Linked DNA regions of Homo sapiens: all the other regions are linked to region 2. Evidence: promoter capture Hi-C in 16 types of primary human blood cells and fetal thymus (Javierre and others, 2016). All regions are on one chromosome and are shown on one strand. The core of a region is centred on a gene start or on the middle of the fragment in contact, and the rest is flanking DNA. Distances in the headings are between cores, read along the strand shown.

The links. The method cuts DNA at HindIII sites, captures the fragments that hold promoters and counts their contacts. A CHiCAGO score of 5 or more calls a contact.
Region 1: a contact is called between a fragment that was not itself captured here and the fragment with the promoter of R3HDM1 in region 2, in 9 of 17 cell types (activated CD4 T cells, total CD8 T cells, erythroblasts and 6 more). The highest score is 10.2, in activated CD4 T cells.
Region 3: a contact is called between a fragment that was not itself captured here and the fragment with the promoter of R3HDM1 in region 2, in 1 of 17 cell types (non-activated CD4 T cells). The highest score is 6.5, in non-activated CD4 T cells.
Region 4: a contact is called between a fragment that was not itself captured here and the fragment with the promoter of R3HDM1 in region 2, in 1 of 17 cell types (fetal thymus). The highest score is 7.1, in fetal thymus.
Region 5: a fragment that was not itself captured here is called in contact with the fragment with the promoter of R3HDM1 in region 2 in 4 of 17 cell types (fetal thymus, naive CD4 T cells, activated CD4 T cells and 1 more); the score reaches 11.1 in fetal thymus.
Region 6: a fragment that was not itself captured here is called in contact with the fragment with the promoter of R3HDM1 in region 2 in 1 of 17 cell types (monocytes); the score reaches 6.2 in monocytes.
Region 7: a contact is called between a fragment that was not itself captured here and the fragment with the promoter of R3HDM1 in region 2, in 9 of 17 cell types (naive CD8 T cells, total B cells, erythroblasts and 6 more). The highest score is 8.4, in naive CD8 T cells.

The regions. Positions count from the first base shown.
Region 1 is chr2:134,928,617-134,932,216 of GRCh38, forward strand. All of the region lies in intron 2 of CCNT2 (cyclin T2), which reads left to right. Among named protein-coding and RNA genes, the nearest start is that of CCNT2, 12 kb to the left of the region's middle. The HindIII fragment of the contact is 7,188 bases long and covers 1-3,600 here.
Region 2 is chr2:135,530,200-135,534,053 of GRCh38, forward strand. It overlaps R3HDM1 (R3H domain containing 1), which reads left to right and starts at 1,285. Exons shown (of 27, transcript NM_001378107.1): 1 at 1,285-1,434. ZRANB3 (zinc finger RANBP2-type containing 3) reads right to left here and starts at 1,019. Exons shown (of 21, transcript NM_032143.4): 1 at 928-1,019. RefSeq lists enhancers at 332-411, 762-1,031, 1,000-1,294 and a silencer at 1,262-1,451. The HindIII fragment of the contact is 3,394 bases long and covers 1,173-3,854 here.
Region 3 is chr2:134,906,979-134,910,663 of GRCh38, forward strand. All of the region lies in intron 1 of CCNT2-AS1 (CCNT2 antisense RNA 1), which reads right to left. Among named protein-coding and RNA genes, the nearest start is that of CCNT2-AS1, 9.8 kb to the right of the region's middle. The HindIII fragment of the contact is 3,815 bases long and covers 1-3,486 here.
Region 4 is chr2:136,117,010-136,120,455 of GRCh38, forward strand. CXCR4 (C-X-C motif chemokine receptor 4) reads right to left here and starts at 1,140. Exons shown (of 2, transcript NM_003467.3): 1 at 1,037-1,140. The coding sequence starts at 1,051. RefSeq lists an enhancer at 62-131. The HindIII fragment of the contact is 602 bases long and covers 1,575-2,176 here.
Region 5 is chr2:136,381,588-136,385,036 of GRCh38, forward strand. No RefSeq gene overlaps it. Among named protein-coding and RNA genes, the nearest start is that of CXCR4, 270 kb to the left of the region's middle. The HindIII fragment of the contact is 1,658 bases long and covers 553-2,210 here.
Region 6 is chr2:134,736,364-134,740,375 of GRCh38, forward strand. No RefSeq gene overlaps it. Among named protein-coding and RNA genes, the nearest start is that of TMEM163, 19 kb to the left of the region's middle. RefSeq lists an enhancer at 3,423-3,642. The HindIII fragment of the contact is 3,069 bases long and covers 522-3,590 here.
Region 7 is chr2:134,947,173-134,951,195 of GRCh38, forward strand. It overlaps CCNT2 (cyclin T2), which reads left to right. Exons shown (of 9, transcript NM_058241.3): 7 at 564-727. Among named protein-coding and RNA genes, the nearest start is that of CCNT2, 30 kb to the left of the region's middle. The HindIII fragment of the contact is 2,583 bases long and covers 1,153-3,735 here.

The sequences.
Region 1 (3,600 bases), core at 916-3,415, 600 kb before region 2:
TTTGTATCCACCAGCAAATAGAATTACTATTGGCCATTCACACTATAGTAATTCCTTCCAAAGGCAAATGTGCACTTTCACACTAATCTTAAACTGAGGGTTCATTTAGAAGTTGAAAAAAAAAAATGGGAAAGATGTTTCTTCTGTGGCCAAAAATCGGAAGATAATGAAACTTTATATAGTTCCATGCTTAAAAAGAAATACCTGAGAGGGCAGGAAGAGAAAATTCTGAGGGTTTGGGGGTAATCTTTAAATGATGCAAGGATTCAGAGAGGATACCAGGTATTTCCACACCCCCACCCCAAGGTAGATATTTCAGTTACTTTGTGTTGCTATAGCTCCATGATTGGGGTTTTGAATGCCTAGTGTGAGTAACTGTTTGAGTTGATATGGTTCACTTTATGTAGACTTAAATATCTGTTAAAATTATTTTTGTTACCCAAACAAATTAATAATTTTATGAAACAATTGCTTTTTAAAAAATAATATAATTGCATAATGTAAATGCCAAAAAGTTATTTGCTGTTTAAGAAATTGATATTCTCAAAACAAAACCTGATTCTACTTTTAAATTAACAAATGTGTGATAAAGTTACACATGGTTAAGATGCATATTGTTTATTAGTATTTGTTACGTTATGATTAGGCTTTCGGTTTCCTTGAAATTTCTTTTGTTAGTGCATGCACACTACATCTATGGAGATCTGGCCAGGCATGGTGGCTCACACCTGTAATCCCAGCACTTTGGGAGACAGAGGTGGGAGGATTGAAACCAGGACTTCAAGACCAGCCTGGGCAACTTGGCGAGACCCTGTCTCTACAAAAATTAATTTAAAAAAAAATTAGCCCGGCATCTTGGTGTGCGCCTGTAGTCCCAGCTACTTGGGAGGCTGAGGCAGGAAAATCGCTTGAGCCCAGGAGGTTGAGGCTGCAGTGAGCCACGTTCACGCCACTGCACTCCAGCCTAGGTGACAGAGCAAGACCCTGTCTCAAAAACAGAGAGAGAGAGAGAGAGAGAGAACTAATAAATAGATGCCTTTTTTTTTTTTTTGAGACGGAATCTTGCTGTGTTACCCAGGCTGGAGTGCAGTGGTGCAATCTCAGCTCGCTCCAGCCTCCACCTCCTGGGTTCAAGTGATTCTCCTGCCTCACCCTCCCTGAGTAGCTGGGATTACAGGCATGCACCACCATGCCTGGCTAATTTTTGTATTTTTAGTAATGGCAGGGTTTTACCATGTTGGCCAGCCTGGTCTCGAACTCCTGACTTCAAGTGATCCGCCTGGCTTGGCCTCCCAAAGTGCTGGGATTACAGGCATGAGCCACCCCGCCTGGCCTAAATAGATGTCTTTAACGTTAGCTCCTTAAAAAAAAAAGAGAGAGAGAGAGATACAATTCATATACCGTAAAATCCACCTATTTAGAATGCATAATTCAGTGGCTCACACGAAGTTGTACAACTATCACCACAATCTCAGTTTAGAATATTTTTATCACCCCAAAAAGAAACCTGGTTGCTGTAAGCAGCAGTTCACCAGTCCCACTCCCCTTCCCAACCCTGGGCAACCCCTAAATTATTTTCTGTCTCCATAGATTTGCCCATTCTGGACATTTCATATAAATGGAATCATGTATATATGGTCTTTCACGAAGCATGTTTTCAAGGTCCGTTCATGGTGTAGAATGTGTTAGTACTTCATTCCTTTTTACTGCAGAGTAATTAATATTCTATTCGTCATGTGGCTGTACCTCTTTTTATTTATCCATTTATCAGCTGATGGACATTTGGGTTGATTACACTTAACAGCCATTCCACTGGCTATTATGAATAATGCTGCTATGAACATTCATGTACAAGTTTTTATGTGAACATATGTTTTCATTTCTTACGGGTGAGAGTTACATGAGAGTGGAATTGCTGGATTGGTATGGTAACTTTAGACTCCAATAATCTTTTTGGATAGCTTTTAAGAAACATTTTGAGGAACTGCCGAACTGTTTTCCAAAGTAGCCATACCATTTTGTGTTCTCAAAATGTGTGAGGGTTGCAATATCATCACTTTTCTCGTCTTTTTTTTATCGTAGCCATCCTAACAGTGTGAAATGATATCCCCTATTCTATGCATTGTCATTTTTATGTTCTTGGTGGTATTTGCAGCACAAGCATCCAGTTTATTAATATTTTTCTTCTGTAACTTGTGTTCTTGATAGCATATCTAAGAAACCTTTACCTAAACTAGAGTCATAAAGATTTATTTGTCTTTTCTTCCAAGAGTTTTATAGATTTAGCTCTTACATTTAGGTCTGTGATTCCTTTAGAGTTAGTTTTTATGTATGATGTAAATAAGGATTTGAATTTTTTTTTTTTTTGAGACATCTCACTCTGTCCCTCAGGCTGGAGTGCAGTGGCGCCATCTGGGCTCACTGCGTGCTCCACCTCCCAAGTTCACGCCATTCTCCTGTCTCAGCCTCCCAAGTAGCTGGGACTACAGGTGCCTGCCGCCACGCCCGGCTGATTTTTTGTATTTTTAGTAGAGACGGGGTTTCACCGTGTTAGCCAGGATGGTCTCGATCTCCTGACCTCGTGATTTGCCTGCCTTGGCCTCCCAAAGTGCTAGGATTACAGGCATAAGCCACCATGCCCGGATCTTTTTTTTTTTTTTTTTTTTTTTTTGGTATTTGAATATACAGTTGTCCCAGCACCATTTGCTGAAAAGAGTTCTTTCTCCCACTGAATTTTCTTGGGATTGTTAGTGAAAATCAATGGATCATAAATGTAAGCATTTATTTCTGGACTCTGGATTCTATTCCATCCCCTTATGCAGACCACATAGTCTTGATTACTGTAGCTTTGTAATAACTTTTGAATTTAGGAAATATGAGTCTTCCAACTTTGTGCTTTTTCAAGATTGTTTTGGCTATTCTTAGTCCCTTGTATTTCCATGTGAATTTTAGGATCAAGCTCATCAGTTTCTACAAAAGAAGCTGGGATTTTTATAGGGATGACATTGAATCTGTAGATAAATTTGGGGAGTACTGCCATCTTCGTGATAATCTGTTCGAAGGAAAGTGGCCTTTTGTAACATTTATGTAGTATATTTGAATTCCTGTGCAATGTTAATGTTCTTGTTTCACAATACAAGTCATTTTTTGTCCTTTTGGTTTTTTAAGAGAAGGGATCTCACTCTGTTGCTCAGGCTAGCCTCAAACCCATGGACTCAAGCAGTCCTCCCACCTCAGCCTCCCAGGTAGCTGGGACTTAGAGTGGTATTTTTTAGTATTTATTGTAGGCTGTTAGGAGCTGTGTCTATATAAGAGAGAGTAGATAGAGCCTTAACTATGAAATACTAAGTATACTTTATAAGTTGGTTTTTTTCATTTTTTCTTTTTTGTTTTTTTTCAGACAGTCTCACTCTGTCACCCAGCCTGGAGTGCAGTGGTGCTCGCTGCAACCTCCGCCTCCCAGGTTCAAGCGATTCCCCTGCCTCAGCCTCCCAAGTGGTTAGGATTACAGGTGTGTGCCACCATACCTGGCTAATTTTTTTGTATTTTAGTAGAGACGGGGTTTCACCATGTGTTAATCTTGAACTCCTGACCTGTTGG
Region 2 (3,854 bases), core at 35-2,534:
CTCCGTCTCAAAAAAAAAAAAAAAAAGTGTGTCTGTAAATGTAGTTCAGAACTTCGGAGCCCTGTCTTTACAGTTCAAACTGACCACGCGAAGACTAAAGGCAGTAGAGGTACTTTCTACAAATTTAGCCGTGCAATCTAATAGCGAGCAGGCCGAGACGCCCGCGATTGAAGGCCGGGGTGGAGAAAGTAATAAGGGCCCTGGAAATTACCCCCATCCCATGTCACCCACTCTTTCTTAAAATGCCATTAAATTCCGTTCAACTTTTTATCTCCCATGCAAGAAACTAGCGACTTGCCAGCCACGCCACTTCCAGCCAGTCACACCTGGCGTATTCGCCGCAGAATCTCCAACTCCCGCCACAGGTTTGGGACGTGTCCGCCCCTAAGCGGAAGTGACGTTCAACGGGACAACGTGAAAGTAGATGAGTTTAAATACGTACTAATAATTTAAAACCCCTATGGTATTTTGAGGAAACTCTTCCGGCTACCCTTCTTCCATCACTTCTCTCCCGTTAGGGTTGCGAAAAGGGCTCTGTACAGCCTCGCGACAACTCGTTCTCCGCCCTAATTTCAAGTCATTCAAAACTCTGTCCCTTTTCATTGGCTGAAGCGGCGGCATGGGTACCTCTCAGGAACTACAATTCCAGCCAAGCACCGCGACAAGTGAACGGAGGAGAAGTTATGAGTAGGGGAAAAGCATGTTGGGAATCGTAGTCCGCTCCAGGCCGAAAAGAGCAATCACCCCGCCCTCCGCCACTGAAGCTGGAGAAACCAGGTGTTCGTTTCAGAACCCGTTAGCGCTAAGGGGAGGAGCCAACCCCTTAAGCAGCATGCCTCACTTCGCCCCACATGGAGGATAATTTTCCTTTACCCCTAAAAAGCACTATAAATACCCACTGAGGAGATCTGGTTGTCTTTTAAATACCTCGAGTCAGTAAAAACTCACGAAACTCCGCACCTCAGGCTCCAACTCGTGGGAAAAGGTAGCTCTTTTACAAGTGGGCAAAATGGCTGTCCTCCTAGTTTTACCATTGGTTGGCTTTTGCGTCCTTCAAGGGCGGTTACTTACCACGGATTGGTTCTTTTTCTCTTGAGGTTGGAGGAAGATTTGGCACGGCTCTCCGCGGCCTGGGAGGAGGTAAAGGGGTGGAGAGAAGACAGTTTTTTTCAAGCTTGATTGGGCAAAACTCATGTCACTCCGGGGACGTACAACCTATGAATAGTCGGCTGCCGCTCAAAGAGAACGAAGAGGCGGGGCTAGTGCGTGGTGGGAAGGGGCGGGATTCTGCCAGCCGCGGCTGCCGCTGGAGCCGGTGTCCGGGCTGGTGATGGGGTTAATTCCCTTTCGTAAGACTCTTACTTGCACCCACCCAGCCCCGCCGTCGCCCCGCCGCGCCGCGCTCCAACCGCCTCCTCCTCCTCAGTAACGCGGGTAAGAGATGCCCTTCCCTCCCCCGTCCAGCTCCCCGGGAATAACGCGCCTTGCTCCCCTCCCCCGCCCGCCAACCGGTAGCGCTAACGGAGAAGGAGGCAGGCAGGGGAGAGATGTGGTGTGTGGAAAGGTGGCCTTCCCCGCCGGGTCGTCGGCGCTTCAGCCAGGGCCTTCTGACGTCCCGCTGCTGCCAGCCCGCCGTTAGGTCGGGTTCCGAGTGAGCCAGGCTCGCCTGGCCCGCGGCTGCGGCTCCGGCTGCAGCTGCAGCCACTGCCTTGTGCCCACCGCCCCCACCCGGGGGCCATGTGAAAAGCAAACCCCTCGAGGCCTAGCGGAGGAGGCAGGGGAAAGGTTTCCGAGTCCCTGCCATGGCTGCTGCTGCTGCCTCCGCGGCTGCTCTTGCAGCCCCAGGGACTCGGGAGCCAGCCACAGCAGGCCTGCCAAGAGCGTGGTACTGCTCTCTCGTGTGGCTGGCGCCGGTGCCCCGGGCTCCCCCGGCCGCCCCACGGCCGCATCCCCTGGCCTTGCACCAAGAGAATTTTCAGCTTCGACCGGTTGGTAAAATGTAGGTACATTTTCCCTGTGGTACCAGAAAAAGCACAATGGGAATATTAAAAAGAAAGTTGAATGACTGTCAGTGCCACGGTCCCCCGGGATCAGATTTACACACGTTTTGATTCCTGAGCCTTAGGCTGCCAACAAATCTTTGTGGGCTTTGAAGTTTTTTGGTGTTTTGTTTTCTTTTGTTGCTGTGACTAGGTGCAAAGGGTGACTCTGTTGAGCTTGTTTTTATAAAGAAACTTAAATTATTGGGACTATCATGCTCCGTGTGTAATTGTCCTGGGATAGTTAAGTAAAAGGTGAAGAAGAGGTGCTTTCCAAATTAGGATTAGTGAACAGCAAATGGTTTTTCTAATAAAATTTTCTAAATATATATATATATATCTTCATGGTTATAGTTTACCTAATTGTAACTGTAAGAAACCTTTTTTAGCTTAAATATCATTGATGACAAAAACTTTTAAATGAAAAGATGATTAAAGTCAAACTGAAAGTCTACCCATTTATAATATGTGAAACAAGATCTTCTAAGTAATAGGATACCAGTCTGACAGGAATAATTGGACACGTCTCAATTTCTAAAAATTTGGCATATTTGGCTATTTTTAGGGCATTCTGTTATGATTTCTTCATCACATTTTGATGGAGTACGCTCGTCTTTTCAAATACCACTCTGCTTTTATGCCTGGAAGAATATGTCTTTAAATCATGGATTCTATAGTCTGTAGTAGACATAACTGTGATCAGAGATAAAATTCTAGGCCCATTTCTGAGGTTTACTTGTTAGCAGAATAAACTTGGGTTCTGAGGAAACATCTGAGTTTTGATCATTTCTTCAGGGTTTGAGAAGACTATGGTGGCTTAATGATCTTCTGTATTCCATAACTAGTACACCTAGTTACAGAATTGACATAGATACATTCAGGTCCTGGAGGAAATTTGTGGTATCTATTAAAAAAATGAAAATTGCCAGTCATGTAGTAGTCACCTGTAGTCCCTGCTACTCAGGAGTGTGAGGTGAGAGGATCACTTGAGCCCAGGAGTTCAAGGCCAGCCTAGGCAATATAGCAGAACATGGTCTCAAAAAAATAAAGAAATAAATACACAGCCTTGGAAGGCAAGTCCCCTGAGATCCCCACAGAGTTCCTGTAACATATATTGCCAGCTGCCAGCATAGTATTTTCCAGAACTTAAGAGTTAATTGATAAATTATACAATCGATACTTTCAGATCTTGGGTGATTTATATAGAGAAAGAGCTGTTGAAAATTTAGGAGTCTTCTACATTTTCTTCCTGGCTGTTGGATCCCTCCATGAACCTCAGTTCGGTTTCCTCATCTGTAAAATGAGGATGATAATGCTTAACTTAGGGAGTTATGAAAATTAGAGATAAATATATAATAGTGGCCGGGCGCGTTGGCGCACCTGTAATCCCAGCACTTTGGGAGGCTGGGCGGGCGGATCACCTGAGGTCGGGAGTTGGAGACCAGCCTGACCAACATGGAGAAACCCCGTCTCTACTGAAAATACAAAAAATTAGTCGCTCATGGTGGCGGGCACCTGTAATCTCAGCTACTCGGGAGGCTGAGACAGGAGAATCGCTTGAACCTGGGAGGCAGCGGTGAGCCGAGATCAGGCCATTGAACTCCAGTCTGGGCAACAAGAGCGAAACTCCATCTTAAAAAGAAAGAAAACAGAAAATTAGAGGTAAAGTATGTAAATCCCCTAGCATTGTGCCTGACACAGTTTGTGCAATAAATATTAACTGTTATTTTCATGCATATTTAGAGAATGGGTTTGTTGTTCATATGCTGAGGGTGTTGTTGCAGCCTTAGAACACATTCTGTTACTGAAGAGTAC
Region 3 (3,685 bases), core at 329-2,828, 620 kb before region 2:
GTAGTCACGAGTTTCAGCAAGAAAGTCTGAGATGTAATCAGCTTGCCATACAAAGGATACTTTCTGGACAGTGAATGCAGGGACCCACCATTGCATGGTTATCCCAGATATCACTTCTGTTTGTAAGAGCCTATTAAATATTTCTTTCTGAGAAACTGAATTTGTCAGCCTCTTTCTTCAGCCTCTCACCTTGGGGGTGGGTTTGCACAGACCTGCTCACCACGGAACAGGCAGGAGAGAACACAGCAAGAAAGAAAACCACTGTGGCTGAAGATGACAAAGGAAGACATTCTTGGTAAAAAGTGACAAGCTCATGTGAGGCCATAAGTCAGTTGAGGAATTTTATATGTTGAAAAGCTGTGAGAACTCACAAATGGGAGAAAACATTTGCAAACTACCCATCTGACAAGGGATTAAGAACCAGAATCTATAACGTGCTCAAACAACTCTACAAGAAAAAAATTTAATAATCTGATTTTGAAATGGGCAAAAGATTTGAATAGACATTTCTCAAAAGAAGACATACAAATGGTAGACAGGCATATGAAAATGTCCTCAGTATCATGGCTCATCAGAGAAATGCAAATCAAAACTATAGTCAGATATCATCTCACCCCAGTAAAAATGGCATTTTTCCAAAAGACAACCAATAACAAATGCTGGCAAGGATGTGGAGAAAAGGGAACTCTTGTCCATTGTTGGTGGGAATGTAAATTAGTACAACCACTATGGACAACAGTTTGGAGGTTCCTCAAAAAACTAAAAATAGAGCTACCATGTGATCTAGTAATCCCACTGCTGGGTACATACCCAAAAGAAAGGAAGACAGTATATCAAAAGGATATCTGCACTCTCATATTTGTTGCAGCTGTGTTCACAATAGCCAAGGTTTGGAAGCAACCTAAGTATTCACCAACAGATGAATGATTAAACAAACTGTGGTACATATATACAATGGAGTACTATTCAGCCATAAAAAAGGATGAGATCCTGTCATTTGCAACAACGATGGAACTGGAGGTCATTATGTTAAGTGAAATAAGCCAGGCACAGAAAGACAAACTTTGCATGTTCTCACTTATTTGTGGGAGCAAAAATTAAAATAATTGAATTTACAGACATAAAGAGTAAAAGGATGATTACTAGAGACTGGAGTGGATAATTGGGGAATGGGGATGGCTCATGGGTACCAAAAGTAGTTAGAAAAAATGAATAAGACCTCATATGTGATAGCACAATAGGTGACTATTATAGTCAATAATAATTTAATTATACATTTAAAAATAACTAAAAGTATATAATTGAGTTGTCTGTGACACAAAGGATAAACGCATGAGGGGGATGGATACCCAATTTACCAAGATGTGATTAATAAGCATTGCATACCTGTATCAAAATATCTCATGTACCCCACACTACTATGCACCCACAAAAATTAAAAATTAAAAAAAAAACAACAAGAGTTGGAAGCAAAGAAGCATGGATTGGAGTCTTACGGTCACAAGCCAAGAAAGGCCTAGAGTCACCAAAAGCTGAAGAGCCTAGAAACAGATTCTCCCCAATAGTCTTCAGAGGGAGCACAGCCCTGCTGTTTTAGTCCAGTTTTCATTGCTCATAGCAGGATACCTGAAACAGTAATTACTTCTTAGAGTTACAGAGGCTGAGAAGTCCCAGGTTGAGGGGCCACATCTGGTGAGGGCCTTCTTACTGGTGGGGACTCTGCAGAATCCCAAGATAGTACAGGGCATCATATGGCAAGGGAGCTGAACGTGCTAGCTCCAGTCTCTTCCTCTTCTTATAAAGCCGACCAGTTCCATTACCATGATAACCCATTAATCCATTAACCTATTAATCCATTCATGAGGGCTCTGCCCTCATGACCCAATCACCTCTCAATACTGCCACATTGGGGATTAAATTTCAACATGAGTTTGGGAGAGGACAATCATTCAAACCATAGTCCCTGCCAACACATTGATTTTAGACTTCTGGCCTTTAGAATTGAGAGATAATAAATTTCTCTTGTTTTAAGTCAAAAAACAATACCAAAAGAAAACAAACAAATAATAACAACAACAACAAAGAAAAGCAATGAGAAGGTTTTTAAGTAGGGGATGGCATTAATTAGAGCTGATTTTTTTTAATCCTGCTCCTGTGGGATAGAATTCAATTTTGAAAAGATTCCTCTGGCAGGCTGCAGGATGACAACAGCTTGCAGGGGAGCTTAAGTGAAATAGCTTGGGCCAAGATGGTGGTAGTGTTGCTGGTGGAGAAACATACGTAATAGACTCCAGAGATAATAAGGGTCAACAGAAAGGCTTTGGTGATGGGTTAGATACGGGAGATAAGGATTACAGATACCAAAGATGACCCCTAAGTTTCGGACTTGCATAACTGGAAGTAGTGCCATTTTACTACAAGAGGCACAGAGAGAAGACCAGGTTGGAAAGACAGGATTATGAGTTTAGTTTGGGGAAATATTGATTATTAATGCCTTTGAGACACACAAAAGGGAAAGTCGAGTGTGCAGACTTATGCAGTTTGAATTTCCTAGCACACAGTAACATCTCTACTAGCATTCACTGGATAAATAAATAGTAAAATAAAAATAAGTAAACAGGTCTTCCTCCTAAAATGAGCAAAGAAAGGAACCGGAAATCAATCTTCACCGAGTATGTTAGGAATTCATGCAGTTCTGAGTGTAATCCAAATGGCAAGGCCTCACAAATTTGTGACTATCTACAATGACTTGAGTCTTCACTATCCTCGTGAGCCTTTCTTCTTGGCTCACCCGCCTAGTAAGCCCTTCTCCTTGGCTAATAGATGGGTGTCTTCTCCCTGTGTCTTCATATGGTCTTTCCTCTGTACATGTCTACATCATGACTGACTCTTCTTCTAGGACACCAGTCATACTGGATTAGGGCCCACCCTAATGATCTCATTTTAACTTAATTCCCACTTAAAAGAACCTGCATCCAAATATAGTCACATTCTGAGCTACTTGGGGTTAGGACTTTTGGGACACAATTCAGCCCGTAACAAATGCCTTATATATATTCACAAACCAATCTGGCAATGTCCATACCAGGGGTGTAATTTGGTGACAGCAGACATTCTTCTCAGATGCCATTAGCAGCACAGGGTTCTAAGCAAAGGTAAAGAGAATAATCTCCTCAGTACCATATTTGATTGCCTGGCCCTGGAACAATATTGCTTACACAGTGAATCTGCTCACAACCCAGAATCTAGAAAAGTCACTCAGGAAAATCACCTTTTCAGTGTTTTCTCTCCTTCCTTATCTACTGCAAGCACTTCTCCAAAAACAACCTTTTTAAAACACTCCCAACACCACCAGATTCCAAAGGAGAAACAACCACTCATAGCCATCCAAGCATCTTTCTCTTTCCGTTGTACAGTACCTTCTCCTATATCCCCTAAAAAGAAAGCCAGTACTGGCTCAGCCTAATTCATATTCCCTGACCAAAAAGCTTAAATCTGTATTCAAGGTAATCACTTTAGATTAACATACCAAGACAAATACCAGCTTTAAATTTGTTTAACTTAAAGAGACCATTATGAAGATTTTTCCCAATCAAAATTGAAAAAAGGTAAATTGAAGTTTCCATTTCTGAAAATAAAAAACTGCTCACAACCTAAAAACATTAAAGTTTATTTTTAAAAAGTC
Region 4 (3,446 bases), core at 626-3,125, 590 kb after region 2:
CGCTGCAGGAAACCAAAAACTCCCTAGCAAGAGGGTTTCAAAAGGTTTCTGGAAACCACCGACGGTTAAACATCACAACTGGACTCGGAGAGAGCCAAACGGTTTCCCCACTTGCACCTGCCAGTCTTCGCGGCGGCGACCTGGCAGCCCAGGTGCGGTCTTAACCGCCCCCGCCCCTCACCCCGTACCCGCTCCTATCCCCGGAGCGCAAATCTCAGGGCTGGCAGCTGCGCGGTGTCAAAGGGGAGGTCAAACCACTCCGCTGACCTCTGCACGACCCCAAACTCTCGAACTGCAGGACCCACTCGCGGCCGTGGGGAAGAGGCGCGCTTCGGACGGCGGGAAGGTTTTCCCCCTCAAACCCAAAGCGCGCGGGCGGATCAACTCCTAGCTGCTGCCACCACTCGATCCCCTCAGAGGATCGGCGCGGTGGGTCCACCCGCCTCTCCCGCCCTCTGCCTACTGTGCTGGGAGACTGGCACAGCTCCGTCGGCCGCACAGAGTTTAACAAACACGCACCCAGTGTCAAGAACAGTCACCAGGCGCTTAACCCCGAAGTTAAAGCGGGCGCAATCTCCTCCTGGGAACTCAGCCCAGGCACGCCGCCCTCCGCCTCTAAATTCAGACAATGTAACTCGCTCCAAGACATCCCCGCTTCCCCAAGGAAGAGACCGGTGGTCTGAGTCCCGAGGCAGCGCGCACGCCTTCTCTGCACTTGTGCACAGAATGTTCTTACGTTTGCAAACAGCGTGCAAGCCGCCGCGCGCGGCGGGACTCAAGGGGGAGACACATGCAGCCACTGGAACGCTCTTTCCAGTCGTTTCTCCTCGACTCACAGAGAAAAAGATTCCAATCCTGCTCCCCCCCCACCCACCCGCACTATATAGGCATGGTCAAGAAAACTCCTTTCGGTGACCCTTTTTTGGAGTACGGGTACCTCCAATGTCCTGGCCGCTTCTGCCCGCTCGGAGAGGGGCTGCGCTCTAAGTTCAAACGTTTGTACATTTATGACAAAGCAGGTTGAAACTGGACTTACACTGATCCCCTCCATGGTAACCGCTGGTTCTCCAGATGCGGTGGCTACTGGAGCACTCAGGCCCTCGGCGTCACTTTGCTACCTGCTGCCGCAGCCAACAAACTGAAGTTTCTGGCCGCGGCCGGACTTTTATAAAAACACGCTCCGAGCGCGGCGCATGCGCCGCTGGGGCGGGGAGGGAGAAGGCGGGGTGGGGGAGAGGGGCAGACGCGAGGAAGGAGGGCGCAGGGGCGGGGCGGAGAGGTGCGCGGCTTGGGAAGCCCAGGGGACCCTGCTGTTTGCGGGTGGTCGGTAGTGAGTCCGGAGCCGGACAGGACCTCCCAGAGGCATTTCCTAAGTTTGAGGGAAGCGGGATGCGCCTGAAGACAGGTGGGAAGCGCGGGCTAGGAACGCGTCTCTCTGTGGCGCGTCCATCCTTGCTAAAGTGGATGGAATTCCAGACCTGGGAATGCTACAGTAGAGACACTGAGGCCCAGGGAAGGGGAGTGACTTGCTGGAGTAACCCAACCAGTAGGCGGCAATGCTGGAAGTAGGGCCAAGCTTCCAACGCCATTCCCCGCGCTTTCAGCAGACGCAGCCCATTCAGGAGGTAAAAGGAGTAAAGATCCTTCCTTCGGAGGATGTAGCTATACTTGCACATTCACAGCATCACTAGGGTCAGGTGCAGATAATTAGGAGATACTTTCAGAAGAAGGTAGGATTTGGCATAATTCTGGAGACTGATCAGATGTAGATATGTATTGCTCAGTAATTTCATAATAGCGGTAACCAATTCGCGAATAGTGCTTTATTATCCTAAAAGTATGCTTTATTATAAGAGTAATTTAGCGACCAGTACTTTTTGTAACAGATCACTAGGAACTTGCACAGAATCACTCATTCATTCTCACAACACCGTGTGGGTATTACCATCACAGAGATGCATTTAGTCCGATATTTATAGAAGGACGAACTGCGTGCCACGCACTGTTCTAGGCGTTGGGGATCCAGCGTGAACCAGACAAGGCCCGCATTCGGAGAAACCAGCAAATAAGCCCGGAGAGATGAAATGCCAGGGATGGGCAGGGATTCCAAGCCGGGCTTGAACCCAGGTCTTCGGTCCCCATACTCGGCGTCTTCCACGATTTTGAGCAGAGGACAAGCTTTGGCACGAATCAGAAATTAGGTTGAAGAACTGGGCGGGGCGGAGTGGGGGTGGGGGTCAGACGTTTAAAGCGATCTCAGACTGGCTGAGGTTTGCAGTGGGCGCGCAGACAGTGCTTTCCCCCTCGCGCCACTTCCCTCCGGCGCGGAGACTGGGTGGGGCGGGGGAGCGAGTGTGGGGCGGGGCCGAGAAACTGCGTCCGCAGGCGGGGTGGCCGCTGCGGAGATAGCTGGGACCGAGGCGCGTGCGTCGCGACACGGACCCCAGAGGCCCCCACCCCGAAATGGTCCCGAGGAGAGGGATTGCCCAGACTGCACTCTACACACGATCCCTCTTTTCTATATCAAAAGAGGAAACATTTCAGTCTGGAGTGTTCCAGAGGTAGTTCGGAGGCAGGGAACCTTTTCTCTACAGAGCATGACTTTCCCCCTTTGTCTGGGACCCCTCCCTAATGTTGGTGGTTAAAGGTTCTCATCTACTCTGCACTTTCACTGACACAGGAAAGATGATATCCGGGCCGGGAGATGGGACTCTCAGAAACGAACGAGTTAGGACACACACTAATGGCCAGATAAAATCAATTCTAATATTACATTTGTAGAATTAAAAAAAAAAAAAGAAACTCCAGGTTCTTGGAGGGTGGTGGCTGGAAGAGGTTTCGGAAGCTCCACGCCCCTTCTCACAGGCCTTGCATTACGTATCTCTTCATCTGTATCCTTTATAATATCCTTTATAATAAACGATAACGGTAAGAAATAAAAATGAAAATAAAACCGTAAAAACACTTTTACTTTTTTCGAATCTTTAATAAAACTTAAGGATCTTCATATTTTTATAGACACGGTAGATCCTATCTACTGAAGGTCTAGAATTTCAGAGCGTTTTCATGACTTGCTTTTCACAAAGCCTGGTAGTGGCAGAATCAGTATGTTTTATCCTGGACCGTAAGCTGCACCCTACCTCAAAACTCCTCCCTGCACGATGTCTAAAACCTGAAAGGTGAGATCTCCCAAATCTGTCCAAAAAGGGAAAGAGGAGAAAACTCGGAGCAAAATGGTTTGCATAATAAATATTTGTTGATTGTAGACAGACAAAAGAAAGCTCCTTCCTTTATCTGAAGACTCCTTTCAGATCTTTTTAGGGATCTCTACTAAAAGGAAGCAGATAATTAAAAGAACAATGAGATGCTATTTGGTGACTACCAAATTAGGCAAAAATCCATTTTTTTTCAAAGATAATATTTGGTCTCCGGATTTGAAAAGACCA
Region 5 (3,449 bases), core at 132-2,631, 850 kb after region 2:
CCTAGAAAACCAGCTGAGTTTGGTGTGAAGATAATTGGGAGGAGGAGAGTTTGGGTTCAGGGAGGAAAGGCCTGGTGGGGGCCTGCAGTGGATGGGAGAGCAAGAAAGAAGGGGCGTGGAGAAAAGTAGGGAGGCAGGTGTGGGGGTGCTAGAGGTTGTTACTTCCTGAAGTTGGGTCCCTCTGGGTGGAATGCCTTTCAGTGACCAGGGGCCACCTGTCCCACCATGTGACTCCATTGCTCAAGGAGCGTCCAGTGGAATAAGTGAGAATCTGAAGCAGAGAAAAATCATCCAGCAGCCATGTGATGAGTATGTAGGGGAGAGTTGAGGCTATGTGGTCAGCTTCGGTCCCGAGTTAGAATCAGATCTGTGACTTCAAGCAGAGTGACCCTGAGCTGGTTATCCAACTAATTCGTGACTTAGGCCTTCTGATAAACTGGGCTTCATAATATACTCATCTCACAGGGCTGGTGTGAGGATCGGCAGGGGTCATGTGAGGAAGCACTTAGCAGAGTCTAGCAAGCACTTAAATAGCAACTAGCGTCATGACAAAGCTTTATGCTCTGGATGCCCTTGACGGGGCTTTTAGCTGTGTGACCTTCAAGAAGTCACCTGCTCTTTCTGAGACTCAGTTGCTTCAGCCCTTTAAAAACAGAAACAAACACAGCCGACCACAGGGTGTGTATGGATCTGAATGAGTACAGACAAAGTCACTCATTGCAGGACTGAGTAGGAGGCAGGGTGCTGGGATTGGTGGGTTTAGGGAGGTCTGGGAGGGCCCTGAAGCTCAAGAGAAGTTTGTTTGGAAAGAAAAGCATCTTCCGTTTTGACTGAGAGGAAATGGGGAGGGGATGTGGTGCAGCGTCAAAGGCAGGGTCTGCTGACGAAACTTGGTGGTGGTGTTTCTCAAACAGAAATAGGACATTCTCACTCTCCGTGACACTCAAACTCCAAAGTTTCGGCCTGGGTGGTGGTTGCACCTGTCACTGACGACCTCACTTGACTTTGAGTTAAGCTGCCCAGGCAGCCAGAGCAACTGTGCCCTGGAAGGCGGCCCTGCCATCAGACAGACATGTTTTTCATATATTCCTGATTTTCATGTAGTAGTTCACTGGACATTTACTGCACACCTACTATATGCTAGGTGCAAGGGATTCAGCAGTGAATAAAACAGTTGCAGGTCTTGCTCTCAAAGACCTTTCAGTCCTGCAGGAGACAGAGGCAATAGAGAAAGAACAGCTTACTTGCATGTATAATTAAGATTTTTGCTGTGACGTTAAAGTTCAGAATGCTGTGAGACTGTACAATGGGGCAAAACCTAATTTAGATTGGGAGACCAGCAAGATAAATGAAACAGGAATGGAGTTCAGATGAGAGATGAAATAACACTGGACTGAAGTGGAGACAGGCTTTCTTTTTTCCTCAAACACCTCCCTTCACATCCAGGCATAGACCACTGGAAAAGTAGTTGCCCTGCTTCCTGATATTACTGTCCTCTAAATACACACACTTTGTGTACCCCCTCCATTCATTTCCACCCCGTCAGTCATTCTTGCCTGTATAAATTTCAACTTTAGCCACAGCCCTGGCCTCACTTCTTATAAAGCCTGCTTCACTCTTCAGTTCTCCAAGTTCTCTCTTCCTTTAGGCCTTTTTTTTTTTTTTTCAGGGTGGTCTGGACTGCTCTTTCAACCTGATTCTATTTGCCCATGTGGCATGTTTTGTTAATCCCATGGCCATACGTATGCTGGCATGTCTATAGTCCATCTGTGCAAATAGATGATACGTAGCATTTCCTCAACCAGAATACTGAGGAGCCTATGCAAATGAGCCATAATAGATCTTATCCTTCAGCCTGCTCACTTGAATGAGTTAAAACTGAGATACAGAGTAGTTAAAGGGGCCCACCAGTCACTGGACGAGAGTCTCAGACTATGATCATGTCTTGTTATTTTATCTTTATATCTCTTCAGGGCATTTGTTCCAGAGTCAGAATGCAATAGATGTTTTCTCTTTGATTGTTTATTCCTCGAGTTGGCCCATACATGTACTATCCCCTGTTCTTCCATTACTCATTTCAAGCAGTAGCTGTAGCATCTGTATTATTTAGCTCCTCTGTATGACTTGATTATCTTATCTGTCAAATGGGTATAGTAATTCAAATCAACAAACATTTATTCAATACTTACTATATCTCAAGGACTTTGCAAAGCTTTGGCGGGGGGCGGGGGTGGGTGCTGCAATAAGCCTGTTAAGATAGATCTGTACTCTTGCCTTAAGGAAACACACAGTGGTAGAACTTGGTAAAGGAATAACTACACTATAGCAAAAATGTCTATAATAAAGGAATATGCAACATATGGGAACACAGAACAGAGTAACTATTGCCTGGGGTAAGTGGAAAAGCTCATTAACACCTTCTCTACTTACCTTGAGTTTGCATTATGAGATTCTAATGAGATCATGCAGTGAAAGTGTGATGAAAAATGGAAAGGATTGTGCATGAAAACTACTAACCAAATGGATGGCAGTGTGATATGGGAGACTTTGGAGAGAGGTGAAAGAAGAAAGTGGTGGCTGCGACAAGAGGTTTGGACAGCATCTGTTCTGATGAACCAGTAAGTCTTACACACAGATAAAATTCAGAGGCATGGCTATAGACCATCTGAGCTACAGCCACCCCAGCTTTAAATTAAGATTTTGGCCACAGGAATGACCCAACCTCTTCATTCCATTAACATAGGTGAAAGCTCTGTGACCTGGAGTATTTGTCACCATTATCCTCCCATTGGAAGAAGATGATTGGGAAGACTGGAATTAGATGAGCGGAGGGAATGCTGGTGGGAGTGGGCCTTTGGAATGGGAAGCCCATAGCTATGACCATCTTGTCAGAACTAGGAGCCCTGATGGGCTAGTGAGAGAGTCACTTCTCTCTCCTTGTCCCTGCATCTGTAATCATGGAGATCTGAATGATGTGTTGTTTTGAAATAAGTGGTTTGCAAACATGAGCAGCTGTCATAATAATGAAAGCACAACATTCAGAAAATTACTCTTTGGTTAGGATTGACAATAGTTTGGGTCAAAGGACATTGCCCAAAGCAAAATAATTATGTATGGTGCAAGTCTGACATCATGCTAGGAGGCATTCTTTAAAAACCAAAAACAAAAAACCCATTTGTGTACCGTCCTTGACTCTTGGTTCTGCCCAAGCTCTAGAGCGACATCCAACCTAGCCCTGAGAATAGGAGAGAAAAGTGACAACAGGGCACTCTCTGCTGGTGAGGCAGACCCACTACAGCTCATTGCCAGAGTCTCTGCCTCTGAGCCAAACCTATAAATCTCAGGAACATCTACAAGAACTGTTTTCATGTCCCAAGATGTAGAGGGATATCTTCTGCTTGCTGAGAAAACATTCTGAGGATCTTGCTGGGCTCTGTAGCAATAAAACA
Region 6 (4,012 bases), core at 806-3,305, 790 kb before region 2:
TTCCACAGCCATCAGCTTTTCACAATCAGTAATGCCACGCTCCATCAGACATCCTAAGAATGTGTGGCCCATGTGGATGAGAGGGGTTGCCACTTTTATTCAAAAATGTATCACGAATGCTTAGAACAGTGCCTGGGATAAGGTAGACAGACATTTATAAAGTGGAAAAATATTTACTGATTTAATGAAAAAAGAGTGAATTAACAATGACCCTATTAAAATAACTCAGTGTAGTCCTTTTCACTACTGTTGTTTAAGGACCCTGTTTCAACACAGTTGTTTAAGGAACCTTTACATAAGGGTGGAAATTTTTGTTCCTCTTTCTCCTCTGTGATGTTTTTCTTCCTCTTTTCTCAGGTGAAGACTGAAAATTCTAAGTTCTCACTGGGCAGAAATGGACATCAAGATCTTCAGATGAAAAGGCCCCTTAATAAGTCGGGGGAAAAAGTCCTCATAGTACTTTAATTCTAAAGTAGTAATCCCATGTGTGCAAGTGTCTGTGCCACCTTGGGAAACTGTGAAGCTTTGTGGCTGTTTATAAACTTGATAATTGGTTCTAACACTCAATGCCTGTTGGGAAGGGCTGCTATTCATCACCTTGACTCTGACTTTCAAGTCCTCCCTTAGTCTGACCTTGTGTTGTCATCTCATGATGCCAATGCCATTGGGATTGGCCCAAATTATTCTTATCCAAACAAAACATAAGCAAGAAAGACCTCTTCTATGACTTTGTAATCTAACAGAACTGAAGAGATGAGTGACTGGGTTCTGGTTCGCCTTGGCCAGAGCTGTGTGTCCTTCTTATACCTCACTGCTCCTCAATTTCTGAATGTCTGAAAAAGCCAGCTGATAGATACTATAGATACTTATTCTGCCTAGCCCAAAAGAAAGCCAAGAGAATAATTATAGAATGCAAATACGAAAAAGAGAGTTAGATGAGGCCTCACAGGTCAGCTAAATTTGGCAAGACTTCCAATTTACAAGTGAGAAACTTGAGGTGCAGTGGTGTGTGCTCATTTGTTATTGCTCCGTAACAAATTACTGCAGACTTGGAGGCTTGAAACGGCACAAATTTATTCTCTTACAATTCTGGGAGTCAGAAGCTGGAAATGAGTCTTATGGGGCTGAAATCATCTTATGGGGGTGTCAGCAAAGCTGATTTTCTCTGGAGACTCCAGGAGAGAATTTGTTTCCTTGCATCCTCCAGCTTCTAAAGGTGGCCGTCACTCCTTGGCTCCTGGCTGAATTGCTCCAATCTCTGTTTTTATTGCCAGTTAGCCTTCTTCTCTCTGACTCTGATTCCCCTGCTTTCTTCTTATAAGGATCTTTGTGATTAAAATAAAGCCACCCAGATAAGCCAGGATAATCTCAAGGTGAAACAGACAGAAATCGATGACAGAGCCTATGCTGGCTTGTGTCAGCAGGAAGGACAGGGTGCACCAGGTGTGGCAGACCCTGAACTGCATCACTGTTGTTAGACTGCTGTTTACTCTCTCCACGCCTTGCTGCTGTCACTTCCTGAATGTCGGCATACTGTATATTACCTCCGAAGGGTCTTTCCCACATGGCAGGAAAGATGAATGCTGACAGCCCTAGATTTGAATCCTTCTAAAAACTCGAGAGGCAGGAGGCTGTCCTTTCCCTTAGTTTCTATAAAACAGTCCCAAGGAAGGGCTCTAATTATCCTGGCTTGATAATGTATGCAAAGTTCAAGTCTGGCAGGAGGTTTTGCACAAACCCAGCTTCCAGAGTTCTGCGAGGGTTCTTACTCTGGGGCTCAAAGCAGCCCTGGCTGCTGCAGCAGTCCCCACGCCATCAGGACAGTTGCAAGGAGAAAAAAGGAGCCCCAATCCCTCACCACTTGCATTTTTTGGTCTAGTCTGGGAAGACAGAACATTGGCACAATTTATGAAAAGCAACTTTGTTACTCACAGTTAAGCAGCAAAAATCAACAGAAACCCAGGGTCCACCATGAGCAGTTCCCCAGGGTTCAGGAATGCTGCCAAGGGCAGATGCAGTCTAAGCATGCCTCACATTACACTCTAGCTGAGGGACTCTGAAAGCACTCCATCCTGGGTTTATATACCCTGGGTACCACTTGGACCACTGAATGCAAGCACTGCAGAACATCCTATTCTAGAAGGAATAAGAATGTAGCCTGGATTGCTCCAGACATTTCCTCCTTATTACAGGATTTTCAGTAGTTTCTGTCTAGGAATGAAAAGCAAGAAGGGGAAGAGCTGGGTCGGCCAAGGTCATCCAGGGACTTATGTTCCTGCAATGTGCTCATTTCTGAGCCAATCTCTGTAACCAGCCAGGGATGGTGCCCTGGTTCAGCCTGGGTCATGTGTCCACACTGTGGGCAAAGCTGGAGGGCAGGATTACTATCAGGAGAAGGCACAGGAAGAAAATCATGCTGGGCAAGGCAAATTCATGGTTACCTCAGCCTCCAGCTTGTCTGAGAGTGTCCCATGGCCATGGTTCATGATGGGTGATGGGCAACCAGGATGAGACAGAAGCCAGGGAAAGAATGAAGATAAAAAAGAGTGGGCCCAGAGGAGCACAGCCCATGAGATTGCACCTCTGGTCCTTGGGAGGCAGTGGTTTCAAAGAGGGGCACTGCAGATGAACACTCCCAACACGGCTAAGGAGGTCAGAGACATGCCACATCTCTAGGACAAGATGAAGTGGGGACAGCCACCTCCAGCTTCACGCTCCCGCTCAGCAAAATATGGACAATAGTTCTGGATTCATAGGGCTTGTCTGAAGTTCTATAGAAGCAGGACCTGAGACACAGATTCTTGGTGCAAGTGATCTCAGAAAGAGAATGTGAGTGGCAAGATAGAAAGAAAAAGGAAGCCAAGAAAAATGTAGATTCAGCTGCATTTTAACCTCTCAGTCTGATCCCACCTCAGCCTGATCCCACCATAGCATGAAGAACACCACAAAGTTATGCAACCTTGAGACAAGGCACCAGACTTTTGCACCCCATATCTGTCACTCATTGTCTGTGGCCACCCCTAGGGGGAAAGCAGGCATTTCTAGGCAAGGTGGCTCCCCTTAGCTGAGCATTCAGAAGAAGGAAGCAGCTGCAACCTGTGAGCAGCCAACACTCAGCTACGGGGTGGTGCCTGGCAGATTAAAGTGTATCTGGTGGGGGCCCCAACTATACCCCTTATGGGGCTATTGTGAGATAATGAAGCTCAAGTCCTATCACAAGGCTGGGAGTTATCATTGTCATCATCATTATCTTATCCCTGTTGTAGAGAAGTAATAAATAGTAAGCATCACATAACACATGCCTCTTGGCTGGCTGCTGCACAGACATACATAGGCAGTAGGAATGTACACAGTCCTTTGTTCATATCCTGTGCCACCCCTGCCATGGACTAGTTATGTGATTTGGGGTGCCAAATTTAGCCCCCTTGAGCCTCAGGGTTCTAATCCATAAAATGGGCTAGGTAACCAGAGCTGGGCTGTTGCAAGGATGACATGAGGTCATCCCCATGGTGCTCTAGGTGCGGTTCTTGGAACAGAAGAAAGCATTCAAGTGACTGTGGGTCATCAGCTTCTGTGGTCAGACAGTCTAAAGCTTCAGCTGACACACATGGAGGCCAAGAAGACACTGGCTTCACGAAAGGCAGTAATATGACTGTGTATTATGTAAAAGATGAAGCCAACTGTGTTTAAGGAAGCAAATCCATTTTCAAAAAGAGGATGTGAAAACAAAGCCTCTAAAGACGTCTGTCTGTTACTCATCAAGACTGTGCCACGGATAGGGCCTTTGCTGTACAGCACCTCCTCAAATGCTCACACAGGCCACCGCTCAGAACAAAGGGGCCTCACCCTGGGCTTCCACAGAGATTTGTCAGCCCGAGGCCACCACCTTTAATTTGGTGGATCAGCTTTTCCTGCCTGTAATCAAAGAGGATAGGATGTGTGTCGAGGTATAGATTAGTTGGGGCTGCCCTGCCCCGCACCCTAATAAAGGTGTAGCCATGAACCTTATTTA
Region 7 (4,023 bases), core at 1,194-3,693, 580 kb before region 2:
GCAAAAGGTAAGTTTCCTTTGTGGCTTTGCTGAAAAACAAGGCATAGATTTACATAGATACGTGTTTAATTCTCTGCTTCACTAAAGAAAGCAAATGCCTATTAAGCCACTTCAGTTGGGATAATCCCTGATTATTGTGAGATTGAAATTACTTTGTCAATTTTACAAATAGTTTTTATCTTTCCATTTACATATTTACCATGACATTACAAAAGAAAAATACCACAAAAAATTTACAGTGTTATCTATATAGTGATTATTGCAAATATACTATCCTCCTCTCCTTTTATAAAATACTTCAATTTTAGATGTAAAAACAAAATTTTAAATATTAATATATTAGTAATATACTCGGGAGTGAGTGAGGGGAAATGTTCATTTTATGTAGATTTTTTAGTACTAGAATTTTATAACTTAGCTTTTAATTTAATAAAATAAGGTTTTATACTCTAGACTTAAAGATAGAGTTTAAATTTTGCTCTAATCTTACTGGTAAATGTTTTTCTTTGTTTTACATACTTGAATTTTTATGGCTCTCCATTTTCAAACCTGCTCTGCAACAGTCTGCATCTTACAACCTTCTGTCTTCAGTACAAACCAACAGTGATAGCATGTGTATGCATTCATTTGGCTTGCAAATGGTCCAATTGGGAGATCCCTGTATCAACTGATGGAAAGCATTGGTGGGAATATGTGGATCCTACAGTTACTCTAGAATTATTAGATGGTAAGTAGAGAAAATAAATTTTTAAGTTTGGAATTATCTAAGTTGGCAGTTGTCTGAATTGACAATAGAAAGTGTCAGTACACTATCAGATGAACAGAATGAAAACAACAATTCATCAGCCTAAAGAAAAAAAAATAGAGTCTGGAAGCTGTGCTCATACCTGTAATCCCAGCACTGTAGGAGGCTGAGGCAGGAGGATCACTTGAGCCCAGGAGTTCAAGACCAGGCTGGGCAACATAGACCCTGTCTCTACAAAAAAAAAGTTAAAAATTGACTGGGTGTGGTGGTGCGTGCCTATAGTCTCAGCTACTTGGGAGGCTGAGGCGGGATGATCACTTGAGCACGGGAAGTCAGGGCTGCGGTAAGCCTTGAAGGCACTGCTCTACTCCAGCCTGGGTATATATTAACTACCACCAAATATCTAAAGCTTTTTCAGGACTTAAAAAATAAATAAGTAAGGTTTAGAATTCCATAAGCTGACAAGATAAGAATAGTGATTTAAAGTATACTAATTCTGTTGAGTTTTAAATGTGTATACTGAAAGTTGAGTGTTAACTGTGAAGCAGTAAACGAAAGGGATTTTCAGGGGATTGTGTTTCTTGCTCTGTATTACCATTGTTGCCTTACATTGTTAAATATGAATACACAAGGAGAAATTGTGGGTGTGTGTTCTGTTAATTAGGAACGTGGAATTTTGGGGATGTTTTGATGAGAAATTCCTCTGGTTGAGAAGTAAAAGAAGCCGGCCAGAAATGGGAGATTCTTGGGATTAGGGCATTTTAACCACGTACTGTAGATTTCAGCAAGAAAATAGATAACACTTTTTTTTTTTTTTGAGTCAGTCTCACTCTGTCGCCAAGGCTGGAGTGCAGTGGTGCAATCTTGGCTCACCGCAACCTCCACCTCCCGAGTTCAAGCAATTCTCCTGCCTCAGCCTCCCAAGTCGCTGGGACTGCAGGCACGAGCCACCACACCCAACTAGTTTTTGTGTTTTTAGTAGAGATGGGGTTTCACCATGTTGGCCAGGCTGGTCTCAAACTCCTCACCTCAGATGATCTGCCCACCTTGTCCTCCCAAAGTGCTGGGATTACAGGCTTGAGCCACTGTGCCTGGCCTTGTTTTGTGTTGTTTTGTTTTTTGAGACAGATACTCACTCTGCCCCCCAAGCTGGAGCGCAGTGGTGCAACCTGGGCTCACTGCAACCTCTGCCTCCCAGGTTCAAGCGATTCTCCTGCCTCAGCCTCCTGAGGAGCTGGGACCATAGGCGCATGCCACCACGCCCAGCTAAGTTTTGTATTTTTAGTAGAGATGGGGTTTTGCAGTCCACCTGTCTTAGCCTCCCAAAGGGCTGGGATTACAGGTTTGAGCCTCTGTGCCCCACCTGATGTTTCTTTAAGATAGGGGTCTGCAAAGAGTAACACTATTTTAGAGTTTGTGAACTATAAGGTCTCTGTTGCAACTATACAACTATACCATTGCAGCCAGAAAGCAGCCATAGGCAATTTGTAACTGATTGGGTGTGACTGTGTTCCAGTAAAACTTTTGTTGACAAAAATAGGTGGCCAGCCATATTTGGCCAATTATCCATAGTTTGCCTGTTCTTATTTGTGAAATATGCTTCTTTGTTTCATCCTTTTCTATTTTGTTTTCCACCTGGAAAAAATTATCCCAGAATATATATCTCATGCTGTATTATTGCTGCATGATTATAATGTTTTTCTTAAATTGTTAGAGGCTTTTTCAGAGTTTATCCAGAGGAAAGGAAGTCTTCAATGAGTTGAAATGACATCTAAAACTCAGTGAGGGCTTATCTGTTCTATAGCTTGAAAAATCAGGTTATCTAGGTCATTGTTTTAGTTTAATAGTCACTAGATTAAGATTAGGTAGGCAAAATTTTTTTTTCGGGGGGGGGGTGGGGGACAGAGTCTCAGTCGCCCAGGCTATAGAGTGCGGTGGCGCAATCTCGGCTCGCTGCACCCTCCGCCTCCCGGGTTCAAGCAGTTCTCTGCCTCAGCCTCCTGAGTAGCTGGGATTACAGGTGCCTGCCACCACGCCTGGCTAATTTTTGTATTTTTAGTAGAGATAGGGTTTTCACCATGTTGGCCAGGCTGGTCTTGAACTCCTGACCTCATGATCCACCCACCTTGGCCTCAAAGTGTTAGGATTACAGGCGTGAACCACCACACCCAGCCAGTAGGCATAATCGTAATAAAAATAGTTTATATACCTGGTGCTGAAGTAAAAAGATCACAGAAAAGTAATCTGCCTTTTATCCTGTCTTTAGGTCAGAGGTTAGGTTGTGGTTTATGTGGGGTTTTTTGACACAGGAGGAGCTACCTCATTTCCATTCTGAAAAGTAAAGTTTGTTAATTTGGAGAGCAATTGAATAGGAATCTTGGAGAACTGATATGTTAAGACTTTCACCATGTTTTGCAGCAGCTTTTTTTTCTGTGTCAGTCACAAAAAGGCAATTCAAAATTAAAGACATGAAGGTGTGGCCGGGTGCAGTCACTCACATATCTTGAGCACAGGAGTTTGAGCCCAGCCTGAGCAACATGGCAAAACCACGTTTCTACTAAAAATACACACAAACCGGGCATGGTGGCGCACTCCTATAGACCCAACTACTGTGGAGGCTAAGGTGGGAGGATCACCTGAGCCTGAGACGTCAAGGTTGTAGTGAGCTGTGATAATGCTACTGCTCTCCAGCCTGGGCAACAGAGGAAACCCTGTCTGGGGGGAAAAAAAAAGACATGAAGATTTATCTGAATTGTAGAGTGAAGTGATACTACTATTCTTATTACTTACTGAAATAATTCACTTAATGATTGTGTTCCAGAAAAGAACATTGGCTTAGACAGTAGCTTTGAGAGAGAAGGGCCTCTATTTTAGGCACATACTGTGATTTTTGTGCATATAGCTAATTAATTATGTTAATGGATTATTTAACAGATTCTTTTGTTGTTCTGCTATAAAATTTAATACAGTAGGATACTTAAGAAAAACAAAGCTTACATTTTGTGTACGAGATTTTGGACCAGAACTTGAAGTGTATTTAATGTTTTACAACCAAGTTGTTAACAGAAATTGAGTCAAAACAGTTTTGTTAATGTTGGACCCAAAAGTAGAAAAATAGTCTTTTTTTTTTTCTTTTTTTTTCAAATGAGGAAGTAAAGGTCTGGGCATTAGGGTTTTTTTCATCCAAACTGGATGAAAAAGCTCATGAGACTTTAGCAGGGACTAGTCATGACATTGTCAAGGAAATTACATCTTGAAAGATTAATGGTTAAATTATA